Linked DNA regions of Homo sapiens: region 2 is linked to region 1. Evidence: promoter capture Hi-C in human tissues and cell types (Jung and others, 2019). All regions are on one chromosome and are shown on one strand. The core of a region is centred on a gene start or on the middle of the fragment in contact, and the rest is flanking DNA. Distances in the headings are between cores, read along the strand shown. Region 1 holds the start of HAS1 (hyaluronan synthase 1). Region 2 has its middle 25 kb from the start of ZNF577.

The links. The method cuts DNA at HindIII sites, captures the fragments that hold promoters and counts their contacts. A contact is called where the count stands out against the background at its distance.
Region 2: a fragment that was not itself captured here is called in contact with the fragment with the promoter of HAS1 in region 1 in 2 of the 25 tissues and cell types used here (lymphoblastoid cells and mesenchymal stem cells).

What each region holds. Positions count from the first base shown.
Region 1 is chr19:51,721,696-51,727,828 of GRCh38, reverse strand. HAS1 (hyaluronan synthase 1) reads left to right here and starts at 3,838. Exons shown (of 5, transcript NM_001297436.2): 1 at 3,838-3,904. The coding sequence starts at 3,896. The HindIII fragment of the contact is 37,877 bases long and covers 1-6,133 here.
Region 2 is chr19:51,859,801-51,865,933 of GRCh38, reverse strand. It overlaps a transcript of ZNF577 not described here and the pseudogene LOC100419706. Among named protein-coding and RNA genes, the nearest start is that of ZNF577, 25 kb to the left of the region's middle. The HindIII fragment of the contact is 3,923 bases long and covers 1,534-5,456 here.

The sequences.
Region 1 (6,133 bases), core at 2,589-5,088:
CAATCCCCCAGCCCCTTGTTTCACCCTTTGTGCTTCACAGCATCAATCCGCCCTTACTTTTTTGACTGGCCACACCATTTCTTGCCTTGGATGCCCCTTTCTTGCCCCACCGTCCACCACCACCCTGACCACGGCTAACGCCTCATCAGCCAGCATCACCTCCTCCAGGAAGCCCTCCCTGACTCTTGGGCTGGGTTGGTGCATCCTTGTACTGTTTTGTGGCCCTCTGTTTACACAGCTGTCTTCTCCACCAGATTGGCATCTCCCCAAGGGCAGGGCCCAGGGCTGAGTCATCTCTGTGTGCCCGGCATCGCCCAGCCCAGCCCTGTCCACCAGGGCTCAGGAGATGTCCCCACAATGAATGAATGTTCTCTCCTCTGCCTTTGCTCCATTTTTGCCTTACCTCTCCCACCCTGTGCTCCTTCTGTCCAGGTATTCTGTAAGCTGTACCCTGAGGTTTCCTGATGATGGCTGAAATGCTGGGAAGGCCACTGTGGACCCAGGGCAGGAACTGGAGAGCAGCCACCAGAGGAATGGGGGTTTCTAGGAGCCATGGGTGTTAGCGAGGGGTGCGGTGTCCCTACCTGTCCCTCCAACAACAGCCCCGGCCTGCTGTGGGAGTGTTCAGCTTCACTGCTCCCTGTCTTTCAGCACTTGTCTGGGCTGCTTCCAGCCTTGGTCATCTCTTCCTGCAAGAAATTCTGGGGGCTGGACATGTAGGTCTAAGGGAGAAGGAAGCTGGGAGTTGAGACTCCTGGGTCTGAGGGAGGAGGGGATGGGGGCCTGGGCCTGGGCTCCAGGGTCTGAGGGAGGAGGGGATGGGGGCCTGGACTCCTGGGTCTGAGGGAGGAGGAGATGGAGTCTGGACTCCTGGGTCTGAGGGAGGAGGGGATGGGGCCTGGACTCCTGGGTCTGAGGGAGGAGGGGATGGGGCCTGGACTCCTGGGTCTGAGGGAGGAGGGGATGGGGCCTGGACTCCTGGGTCTGAGGGAGGCGGGGCTGGCAGCCTGGACTCCTGGGTCTGAGGGAGGGGTGCTGGGGACCTGGACTTCTGGGTCTGAGGGAGGTGGGGCTGGGGGCCTGGACTCCTGGGTCTCAGGGAGGAGGGACTGGGGGTCTGGACCCTGGGTCTGAGGGATGAGGAACTCTGAACCTGTACTCCTGGGTCTGAAGGAGGAGGGGCTGGGTGTCTGGGATCCTGGGTCTGAGGGAGGAGGGACATGGGAACCTGGACTCCTGGGCCTGAGAGAGGAAGGGCTGGGGTCTGGACTCTCGGGTCTGAAGGAGGAGGGTGCTGGGAACCTGGACTCCTGGGTCTTAGAGGAGGGAACTGTTGAGGATTAAAGCCCTGGTTATCCTTCCTCAACCGCACTCTGGTTTTAGAAACATCTGGTTTTATACAGCTGCTCCACCCGAGCAGGGCGGGGTGGGGGCTGGGCAGCCAAATGCCCCACTTCTGGGGAGGAGCCTGCGCTGCCCCCTCCCACTGGGCGGAGGACTCACCCTCCCCTTCTGCTCTGGGCTGGCCTCAGATCATCTGAGGACCCATCATCCTGACACAGCCAGACACCAGGCAGCCCGGCTCCCGGCAACAGCGTCAGACACAGCCCGGCCCGCCCTGGTGGGTGGGAAGGGCGTTCGAGCTCCTTGGGAATGCACCTTCTCCCTGACAGGCCCAGGCAGAGGCTTGGCCTGGCGCAGCCTCCTCGGGGAAAACCCCAGGGTGTGAGGACTTGGTGTGAGGACTTGGTGTCTGGCAGGGGAGAGCTCCGGGACAGGCTGGAAGAGATGGAACTGCAGGGAGAGACGAAGATGTAGAAACAGAGAAATGGAGAGAAACTGAATGAGAGAGACAGAGACAGAGAAACACATACAGAGATAGAGCCTTACAAAGAGATAGGTGCGGTGGCTCACGCCTGTAATCCCAACACTTTGGAAGGCCAAGGCAGATGGATCACTTGAGGTCAGGAGTTGGAGACCAGCCTGGCCTACATAGTGAAACCCCATCTCTACTAAAAATACAAAAAATTAGCCAGGTGTGGTGGTGGGCGCTTGTAGTTCCAGCTACTCGGGAGGCTAAGGCAGGAGAATCGCTTGAACCCGGGAGGCGGAGGTTGCAGTGAGCCGAGCTCACGCCACTGCACTCCAGCCTAGGTGAGAGAGTGAGACTCCGTCTCAAAAAAAAAAAAAAAAAAAGAGAGAGATGGGGATGCAGAGAGACGGAAGGAGGATAGAGACAGAGCTAGAGAGGGAGGGAGATAGAGGGAAAAAGAGACAGAGAGAAAGAGACACACACACATGGACACACAGTGAGAAAGTCAGGGAGAGGCACTCAGAAAGAAAGAGAGCCACACAAGAAGAAAGTCAGGGAGACTTCAGAAATGCAAAGGGACAGACACTCCCAGGTAAAAGCAGAGAGAGAATGGCTGTGAGGGGGGATGAGGAGGAGAAACAGACAGGAATACACAGAGGCAGAGACCCAAATAGAGGGACCGAGAAACAGAGATGGGGTGACAGATACAAAATGACAGAGATTTGGGGAGGGACAGACGAGGAGAGAGAAGCACGGGGGAATTTCTCTCTGCTGCTCCATGTCTTTCAGCCTGTCCTGGAGCTGGCCCGTGCCAGACACCAAAGGTCGTTGGAGTCACAGGCAGGGAGAAAAGAACGAGGCAGCTACCGAGGCAGCTACCAAGGCCGAAAGTGAGACATCAATAGTTCACAGTAAGAGGAGCAGAGAGAAGAACAGAATTAGATACAGATAGTTTTTTTAAAAAATTCATGGAAAGAAGGGCATGTAAACAGACATTTATCACAGATCTGGTCCTGAGGGGCTGGGGTTCGGGCACCCCAGGTCCCGCATCTCTTTTCACCCTTCCTCTGACTCAGTTTCCCTGATGGGTGACAGCACTGACAGACCCCGGCTGGCTCCCCAGGGTCAGCTGACCGACAACTCTCTGTGTTCATCCCTGAGTCCCTGGGGATACAAATCCCAGCGCCCCAGCTCTCCACCCCAGACCCTGGTGCACACACGCAGACCCACGTCAGTTAGGCGCTGAATGGACAGATGTTCACTCACAGCTCCGGTTCCAGGCAGCCGTGCCTCGGGCCAGCGTACACACAGGCACACCCACAGCACGCACGTGTGTGAGTTTCGTTCCATCTGCCAGTTGCTGAGACATGTCCCTGGGGGGCCCAACCCAGAGATGGATTCTGGGGACAGGAGAGGCGGCTGTGGGGAGAAGCAGGGCGGGGGTGACTGGGGAAGGTGAGAAGGGGGAGGTGGGGAGAGCTTTAAAGCAAGAAGAGAAAGAAATGAGGGTGAGAGGAGGCAAGAGAAGTGGAGAGGAAGAAAGGGATGGAGAGAAAGACAGAAACTTGGAGAAATGTGGTAATGGGGAGAGAGATGAGGGTACCAACAAAGAGATGAGGAGAAATAGTGGGTTAGGGAGAAAGAAAGGGATGGAGGGAAATACAGGGATAGGGGATGGGGGGATGAGGGGAACCCCCAAAATGCAAGTGAGGTGGAAGAGAAAAATCAGGGGAGACAAGGGACGAGAGGGGGGAGGAAGAGAGAAGAAGACATAGAGGAGGGAGGGAGAGGAGGGGGAGTGATGGCAGAGAGGACTAGAGGAGGGGCGCGGGTAGACATGGGGGCCTGGGAAGGGAGGCCCGTCTGGCTGAGGGGGGTGGGAGTAATAGCGGGAAGCGGGTGGAGCTGCCCGGCTGGGCCGTGACCTCAGAGCCCCTGGCCCAGCTTAGCCTGACTGACGTCAGCGCTCGCTCCCGCCCCCGCCTGCGCTGGTCTTCAAATGACCCCCCTCCAGCTCTCTGGCCACAGAGAGGCTGGGAGAGCAAGCCGGAGAGAAGAGAGAGCCCGGCCAGACCCACTGCGATGAGACAGGTGTGTGTGTGTGTGTGTGTGTGTGTGTGTGTGTGTGTGTATACAGCCATGTGGGGAAAACTACTGCCATATGTGTGACCACGTGTGTTGGGGAACTGTGTGTGCATGATTTCATGTGTGTATCCATGTGCCTGACAGTGACCATATGTGTGTAGGGGACAGTGAGCATGTGAGGCTGAGTGTGCAGGTCTGTGTATACATTGCCCTGTGTGAGCGGCCATCCCAAGTACATGTAGGTGAGACGTGCCATGTCCGTATTTCTGTATCTGCGTATCTTGCTACAAACTTGTGTATGTCTATGTTCCCTGGGAGGCAGAGAGAAAGAGGGAGTGCGACAGTGAGCGAATGAAAGAGACTGAGTGAGAAAGAGAGTTGGATTTGCCTGTGGCACATGGGAATGGATTTCTGTTTCATGCGTTCAATAGCTATTAAGTTGAACCAAATGAAATCGCCGATACTGAGCCACTCTAAACTTGGAAGAATAGCAATTTCATCTGGTTCAGTATCAGCTTGACAGTCACCTACTATTTCTCTTGAAATCTTCCCTGTGCATCCCATTGCCCCAGACTCTCAGTTGGGGCTCTGTGTGTTTGTGGCCACGTGGACATCCTTTGCTGGTGTTGCTTTTTCCTGCTGAGGGGTGTGTGTCTGCAGGTTCACCTGTGTGGCCGTCGGTGGGGGTCACGGGATCGCTGTGTTTGGCCTGAGTGGGTGTCTCGGGTCATCCTGTAGAACACGAGTAATTTCATTCTGTGTGTCACTCATCATGTGTGAGTTCACGTGTGGGGGAGTGTGTCTACACGTGTGTTCATCTGTGTTTCTGGAATCAACTCTCTGGATCCCCAGCATGAATTGAGCCATCCCTAGGAACTCAGGCAAGGCCAGGTTTGAAGCAAAGGAAGAGAGAAGGGGGATTCGAGAAGAAAGAATAATGTTTAATGTTGAGAGTTTAAAAGCTGTACCTCAGTTTTGTCCTCTAGAAATGTAACGAAAACCACAATATCTAATTTAAAATTTTCTTGTGGCCACATTTGAAAAAGTAAAAACAAACAGGTGAAATTAATTTTAATAATATATTTTTATTTAACCCAGTGTGTCAGGGGCCAGCACATTTTTTTAAATAAAGGGCCCAATATTAAATATTTGAGGCTTTTGGGGGCCATCTGGTCTCTTTTGAAAGTACTCAACTTCGATGTGGTAAATGTAGAATCAGCCACAGATGATGTATAAACAAATGAATGTGGTTGTATGCAAATAAAACTTCCTTTAAGGACACTGAAATTTGAATTTCATATTTTTCATGCTCCACAAACTATTATTCTTCTTTTGGCTTTCAAAAACCATCTAAAAACACACACACAAATTCTTAGCCTGCAGGCTGCAGCAGGTCTTAGCATGCCGACCCCTGCTACATATAAGATATGATCATTTCAATATGTAATCAATACATAAATGTTAATGAGCTATTTTACTTTCTTTTCCCCAGACTTGGCCTTCAAAATCCAGTGTGTTCATAGCACTTCTCACTTAGATGCTACCTTTTCACTGGAAATACCTAATCTGTGTTTAGATTTTATAAGATTTACAATTATAAAAGGGGCATCGTAGATGCAACTTGTTCCAGACATATTTAAAATCTTTCCAATAACCGAATCAAGTAAGAGTTTTTAAATTTAAATGAATTAAAATTAAATAAAATTTAAAACTCAGTTCCTCGGTGATACTGGCTGCATTTCAAGTACTCGGTAGACACATGTGGCTGCTGACACCTGTGTTGGACACAAAGATCTACATCTTAACGACGCATTTAAATAACCCACAGTAAGCCTTGAGGCAGGAACTGGTGGCATAGGAGGCAGTTTAGCGTAGAGGGGACGCCAGAGCCAGACTGCCTGAGTTTTACTTCTGACTCTGCTTATTACCTGAGTGACCTTGGGTAAAAGTATTTGCCTCTCAGTGTCTCAGTTTCCTCATCTGTAACAGAAGACAGTGAAGGTACCTGCCTTATAAGATTGTTGTAGAGACCGGGTGCAGTAGCTCACGCCTATAATCCCAGCACTTTAGGGGGCCAAGGCAGGAGGATCGCTAGAGCCTGGGAGTTCGAGACCAACTTGAGAAACACAGCAAGACCCTGTCTCTATTATTATTATTATTATTTCGAGATGGAGTCTCGCACTGTCACCCAGGCTGAAGTGTAGTGGTGCCATCTTGGCTCACTGCAACCTCCAC
Region 2 (6,133 bases), core at 2,246-4,745, 140 kb before region 1:
CATGTTGGTCAGGATGGTCCCAATCTCCTGACCTCATGATCTGCCCGCCTCAGCCTCCCAAAGTGCTGGGATTACAAGTGTGAGCCACCGCACCCAGCCAGTGATATTTAATTTCAAACATGGAGAATAGAGGATAAAATGTGAGGTCAGTGCATTTCAGGTGAGTGAGAACCAACAAGATGGGAGACCTGGAAAGTAAAGGAGCTGACCATGAGGGTTGGACCCCTTCCAAATGTGTTTAACAGGGCAAAGACTTGGAAGGTGACTACAGATACCTAGATCATTGATGAGGCTCTCTTTTGTTTGGCGTTTCAAAGAAAATGTGCCTTTTTCTCTCTTTATATTGACTTAGATTCTCACAATCGACACATCATCACAGCACTGCCTTTTATCCTGGGGTAAGGATATTTGGCCTGATTTTTGTATTTCCTACAGACCTGAGTGAATCATATGAGAATGTATCAAAGCAACCTAGAAGGTGGGAGTGCTCACCACAGTGGTGTTCCTGTATATATGGTGTTAGAAATCTTTGGGAAGGCGCGGGCATGGTGGCTCACGTGTGTAATCCCAGCACTTTGGGAGGCCGAGGTGGGTGGATCACCTGAGGTCAGAAGTTCAAGACCAGCCTGGCCAACATGGCGAAACCCTGTCTCTACTAAAAATACAAAAATTAGCTGGGCATGGTGGCGAGTGCCCTGTAATCCCAGCTACTCCAGAGGTGCGGTTGGAGAATCACTTGAACCCTAGAGGCGAAGGTTGCAGTGAGCTGAGATTGCGCCATTGCACTCCAGCCTGGGTGACAAGAGCGAAACTCCGTCTCAAGAAAAAAAAAATCTTTGGGAAAGTTCATTGACTGTTGCATGCAGAATTAAAGAAGAATGAATCTGAAACAGAGTGACAGCACTTACATTTATGTGAAGAGCTGAGAAGACTTCATTTTATCTTGCTTCCCACAGATGTTGGTTCCTAAGACTTAAGTTGGCCTCTTTTCTGGGTACTTATTGTTTGAGCGTGATGGATGGACTTTTTCCATTCTCTGGGCATCTCCTTCTCCCAAAGCCTTCAGAGTTGGAGGGCGTAAGGGTGCTTCATCATTGGTAATTTCTTTTCTTTGTTCCCAGTGTGACCTCTTCGATTTCATGGACTTAACAATGCTATTTATATGTTGATGACTCACAGATTTCTCTCTACAGGCTAGATATTTCCTTATCCTCCTACATTTGCCTGGGAATTGCTTGGAGATCTAATAGCTAACTCAAACTTCAAGTCATCCTTGCTTCACCGTTTCACTCATCCCACAAATCCAGTCCATTTAGCAAGTTTAGACTTTACTTTCTCCTTATATCTCGAGGTCCTCTACTCCTTTCTCTAACAGTTATTTTCACTCAAGCTTCGATGTCCATTATCTCTTGCCAAAATTATGATAGTTTTCTCTAATATACTCTCAGTCCTTTACTCTTGTTTCTATTCTCCACATAATACCCTTAATGAATTTATTTTACTATTTTCATTTATGAAAATAAATGCGGGAGTCAGGGGCGGGAGTCAGGGGCAGGAGTCAGTGTTTCTAGCCCCTCACCTCCAAAATCCCTGAACATTAAAATAAACATCAGAAACATCTTGGTTCTTAAAAGACTTCAGATTTTGACAAAAGTGTTGCGGAAAGTAATTAAAGCTTCATATAAAAAGGTAAATCTTAGTTGGAGGATGGAAAGATCTAAATTATGGTCTAAAAAATGCTATATGATGTAGCAAATCTGTACTCATTCACAGGGTGCAAGCCTAAAAATATTCATGCCATAATATTTAAGACATGGTCAGTGTTAATTACTGATAAACATACACACAGGATGTTGCTTTTAAATTGGAAATCAGGACATGTCATCCTGCTCCCACTATCATTGGTAATGGCATCCTGTTACTGTTAGCACAAGATCCAAATTCTTTTCAGGATCCTCCTACAAGGGAGCATTCCCTGATTTCGGCCTAAACGTTTTTGTTTACTTATTAATGAAAAATGTTTTGGTATAACATACATATAATGTAATTATACAGCTAGGTAACTTTCTAGTCAGCACACTGTGCAACCAGCACCTAGATCAAGAATCTGAGTCCTGTGCAGAATGGCATTGGGTGAATATTACACTGTTTATCTCTTTTACATTCAGGCCATTATACTTAGTGTCCCTATGTATGTTTTCATCAATATCTTTATTTTTATTTTCTCCTTTTGAAAATGCTTGTCTCCAAATGGTCTAGATTTAATGAGATGTTCCAAAATGATACACAAAATTCTTGCACATTCTTTTTGCAAATTTCCCCAAAATATGATTTTACCAATTTGCTTTATTTTATCTATACACACACACCACACACAGGTACATATGGTTTTTCTGAACTCTACCCTAAAACCCAAGTGTGTATTTCATAGGAAGAAGAGCATTCTTTTGCATAATCAGAATACTGTGATCAAAATCAGAATATTGACATTGATATAGTATTATTATTTAAAATACAGAGCTTACTCAAATTTAACCATCTTACTAATATCTTTTTATGGTAAATGGGAAAAGAAGCCTTTTTCTGGACCTCTTCTTGTTATCTCACTTACTCTGTTGTGCGTACACTAGCTTTCATAACATCCAGAAGTCAGAGCTTGCTAATTATAACCAATTCTTTTTGGAAAGAAATCATATGGATGCAGTGAATGTGCAGTGAATACTTGTAAACTACTCATGACCATGCCTCAGAGAACTCATGCAGGAAACAAATCCCAGGAATCTCATGATTTTAGGAGAGCCCTTCCCAGTGAGTTAAAGCTCATTGCTCATCAGCAAACTCAAACAGGAGTGAGACCCTACTGATGCAATCAATGTCAAAAAGCCTTCATTACAAATTCAGGGCTTGTGTATCATCAGAAAACTCATCATAGAGAAGGGAAAGTCTGTACATGCAGCAAATGTGGAGAAGTTTTCCCTTGGAAGTCAGAACTCATTTTATGTCAAAGAAATCATTCAGGAGAGAGACCGTTCATTTGCAAAGTATGTGATAAAGGCTTTGTGGTTAGGACACATCTCACTGTACATCAGAGAGCTCACACAGGAGAGAAACCATATGCTTGCTCAGATTGTGAAAAAGCCTTCTCAAAAAAGGCTTTATTCATGATTCATCAGTGAATTCACACAGGAGAGATACCCTATTAATGCATTCAATGTCAAACAGCTTTGAAGACCAGATCTGAGCTCAGTTATCCTCAGAAAGTTCTTCATAGAAAAGGAAAATTCTATGGATGCAGTAAATGTGGGAAAGCTTTTCCTTGGAAGTCGAACCTCATTTTGCATCTCAGAACTCATTCAGGAGAGAGACCTTTCAGGTGCAAAGTCTATCATAAAGCCTTCATGGTTAGAACACAGCTAACTATACATCAGAGAACTCACACAGGAGAGAAACCATATGCTTGCTTGGATTATGAGAAAGCCTTCTTGAAAAAGGCTCAGCTTATGAAGCATCAGTGAATTCATACAGAAGAAAGACCCTATGGATGCAGTGAATGTCAAGAAGCTTTCATCTGGAAGTTGGATCTCAACAATCATAAGAAAACTCATCATGCAGTAAGGAAATCCCATGAATGCAGTGAATGTGGGAAGGTTTTATCCTCCAAAAAAAACTTTGTTATACATCAGAGAACCCATACAGGTGAGAAACCCTTCAAATGCAATGTATGTGATAAAGCCTTCACATCAAAGGGAAATCTCATTGTATATCAGAGAACTCATATAGGAAATAAATCATATGAATGCTCAGACTGTGATAGGGCCTTCTCCAGTAAGGTATATCTCATGACTCATCAGCCAATTCACACAGGAGAGAGACCCTATGATGCAATGAAGGTCAACAAGCTTTCACCCAAAAGACAGGTCTCAGTAAGCATCGAAAAACTTGCCATGCAAGAATGAAATCTTATGGATACAGTGGATGTGGGAAGGTTTTGTCCTGTAAGTCAACTCTCATTATATAACAGAGAACCTATACAGGTGAGAAACTCCTCAAATGTAGCATGTGTAATAAAGCCATCATAGTTAAATCCTGTCTCACTGTACATTAGAGAATTCATACAGGAGAGAAACCATATAAATGCAGTGATTGTAAGAAAGCATTCGCTACTTTGTAAACTCTCATTGGTCACCAGAGAACTCACACAGGAAAGAGGCCCTATAGATGCAGTGAATGTCAAAAAGCTTTACTCAGAAATCAGCTATTACTAATCATCAGAAACCCCAGCAGGAAGGAAGAAAGTCCATGCAGTGACTTGGAATATGAGAGAGCTTTTTTGATTAGTCACATCAGCTCAGACACAATAGAAGTTCCATGAATACTATGATTGTAATGGGCCCTTTTGGAACTCTTGTGGGAGAGAAACCTTATAGATGCAATGAATATTTTAAGCCTTCTTTTTTGAAGATATCCCTCGTTTACCGTAGAGATCTCACAAGAAGAATCATTGGCCAGGCGCATTGGCCCATGCCTGTTATCTCAGCACTTTGGGAGGCTGAAGCAGGCAGATCACTTGAGGTTGGGAGTTCGAGACCAGCCTGGCCAACATGATGAAACCCTGTCTCTACTAAAAATACAAAAAAAAAAAAAAACAAATAGCCAGGTGTGGTGTGCACACCTGTAATCCTAACTACTCAGGAGGCTGAGGCAGGAGAATCTCTTGAACCTAGGAGGTGGAGGTTGCAGTAAGCCGAGATTGCACCAGTGTACTCCAGCCTGGGTGACAGAGTGAGACTCTGTCTCAAAAAAAAAAAAAAAAAAAAAAAGAGAGAGTCAATTATGAGTGCAGTGATTGTCAAAAAAGTTTATTAGAAAACTAGAAGCTTTCCATTTAGTAGGCAGCACCAGTGGATGTAATGAAAATGATAAATCATTCTCAAATTATATTTGTTACACATTAGGGTATTCATTCAGGAGAAGGACCCTACAGATGGAGGGAATGCAGGAAAGCTAAGAAGAATCACACCTCATTGCAGGTAAAAATTAAAATCTGAAAGTCAAAACTCTTTGAATATCTTGTTTACGAGAGAAATCTCATAGATACAGTGAATGTGATTGTGATAAAGTCTTCCCAGTTAATGTTTATCTTTCTTGTTATAGCAAACTCATACAAGAGGAAACCCCTATTAATATAGTAAATGTGGTAAAGCCTTCATGTAGATACCAAAGGTCACTAATTATATCAGCAAACTCATGTGGTAGATAGGTCCTTCTGAAACGGAATGTGGAAAGCTTTTGAAAGTGACATATACATCAGATACTTAAATCAGAAGGGAAAACGATAGAGTTAAACTTGGCCATTGGCCACAAAACCCATTGCATAGCAGGAAAGAATTGCAGTGATTGTCTAAAATTCTTTATTTAAAATTCAGAGCTGAATTGCCCCCTAACTCAGTTATCAGAAAGATCCTATTCTCGAAGGCAATAATATTTAGGTTCAATGCAGGTATAAAATCCTAATGGAGCCATATCTATTCTGCTTCAGCAGAGTCATACATTTACCTAAAAGCAATGGTTCTGGTCACAGGAAATAATTTCTGTGGAGGATTAGATAGCATTAAACATCACAAGCTTTTAAATATAGGAGCAGAATTTGCTCCATACAGAGATTTTATGAATGCAGTGAAAGTGGTAAAAGCATCAGTGATAAGTTATTTTTTATTTCATGGATTCACTTCTTCACATCCTACCATGTCTTAAATTGTGAAGCATCTTATGATCTGGAATGTCATAGTAATTGTCAGGGCTTTTTAAATGTGTGATGGCACTTTAGATTTGAGTAATTACCCTTGCCTGTATATATAATTTTATAATGGTTTTGCATAATTATTATAGAAAGGATTCCAGAGAATATTCTATAAATATTAGACATTTCATTGTCAAATATTCCTTTTGAATATATGAAAAATAAGAATATAATAAGGATTAGTCGAATAGTGACAAAGGATCTTAGGGGTTGTGTTGTGGACTGTACTATGTGACATGTACTTTATATATTTATAAACTTCATTGTTTACTTGGAATTACACGAAGAAACAATTTTCAGGGTTAAAGAAATTCTCAACATAAGACAAAATGT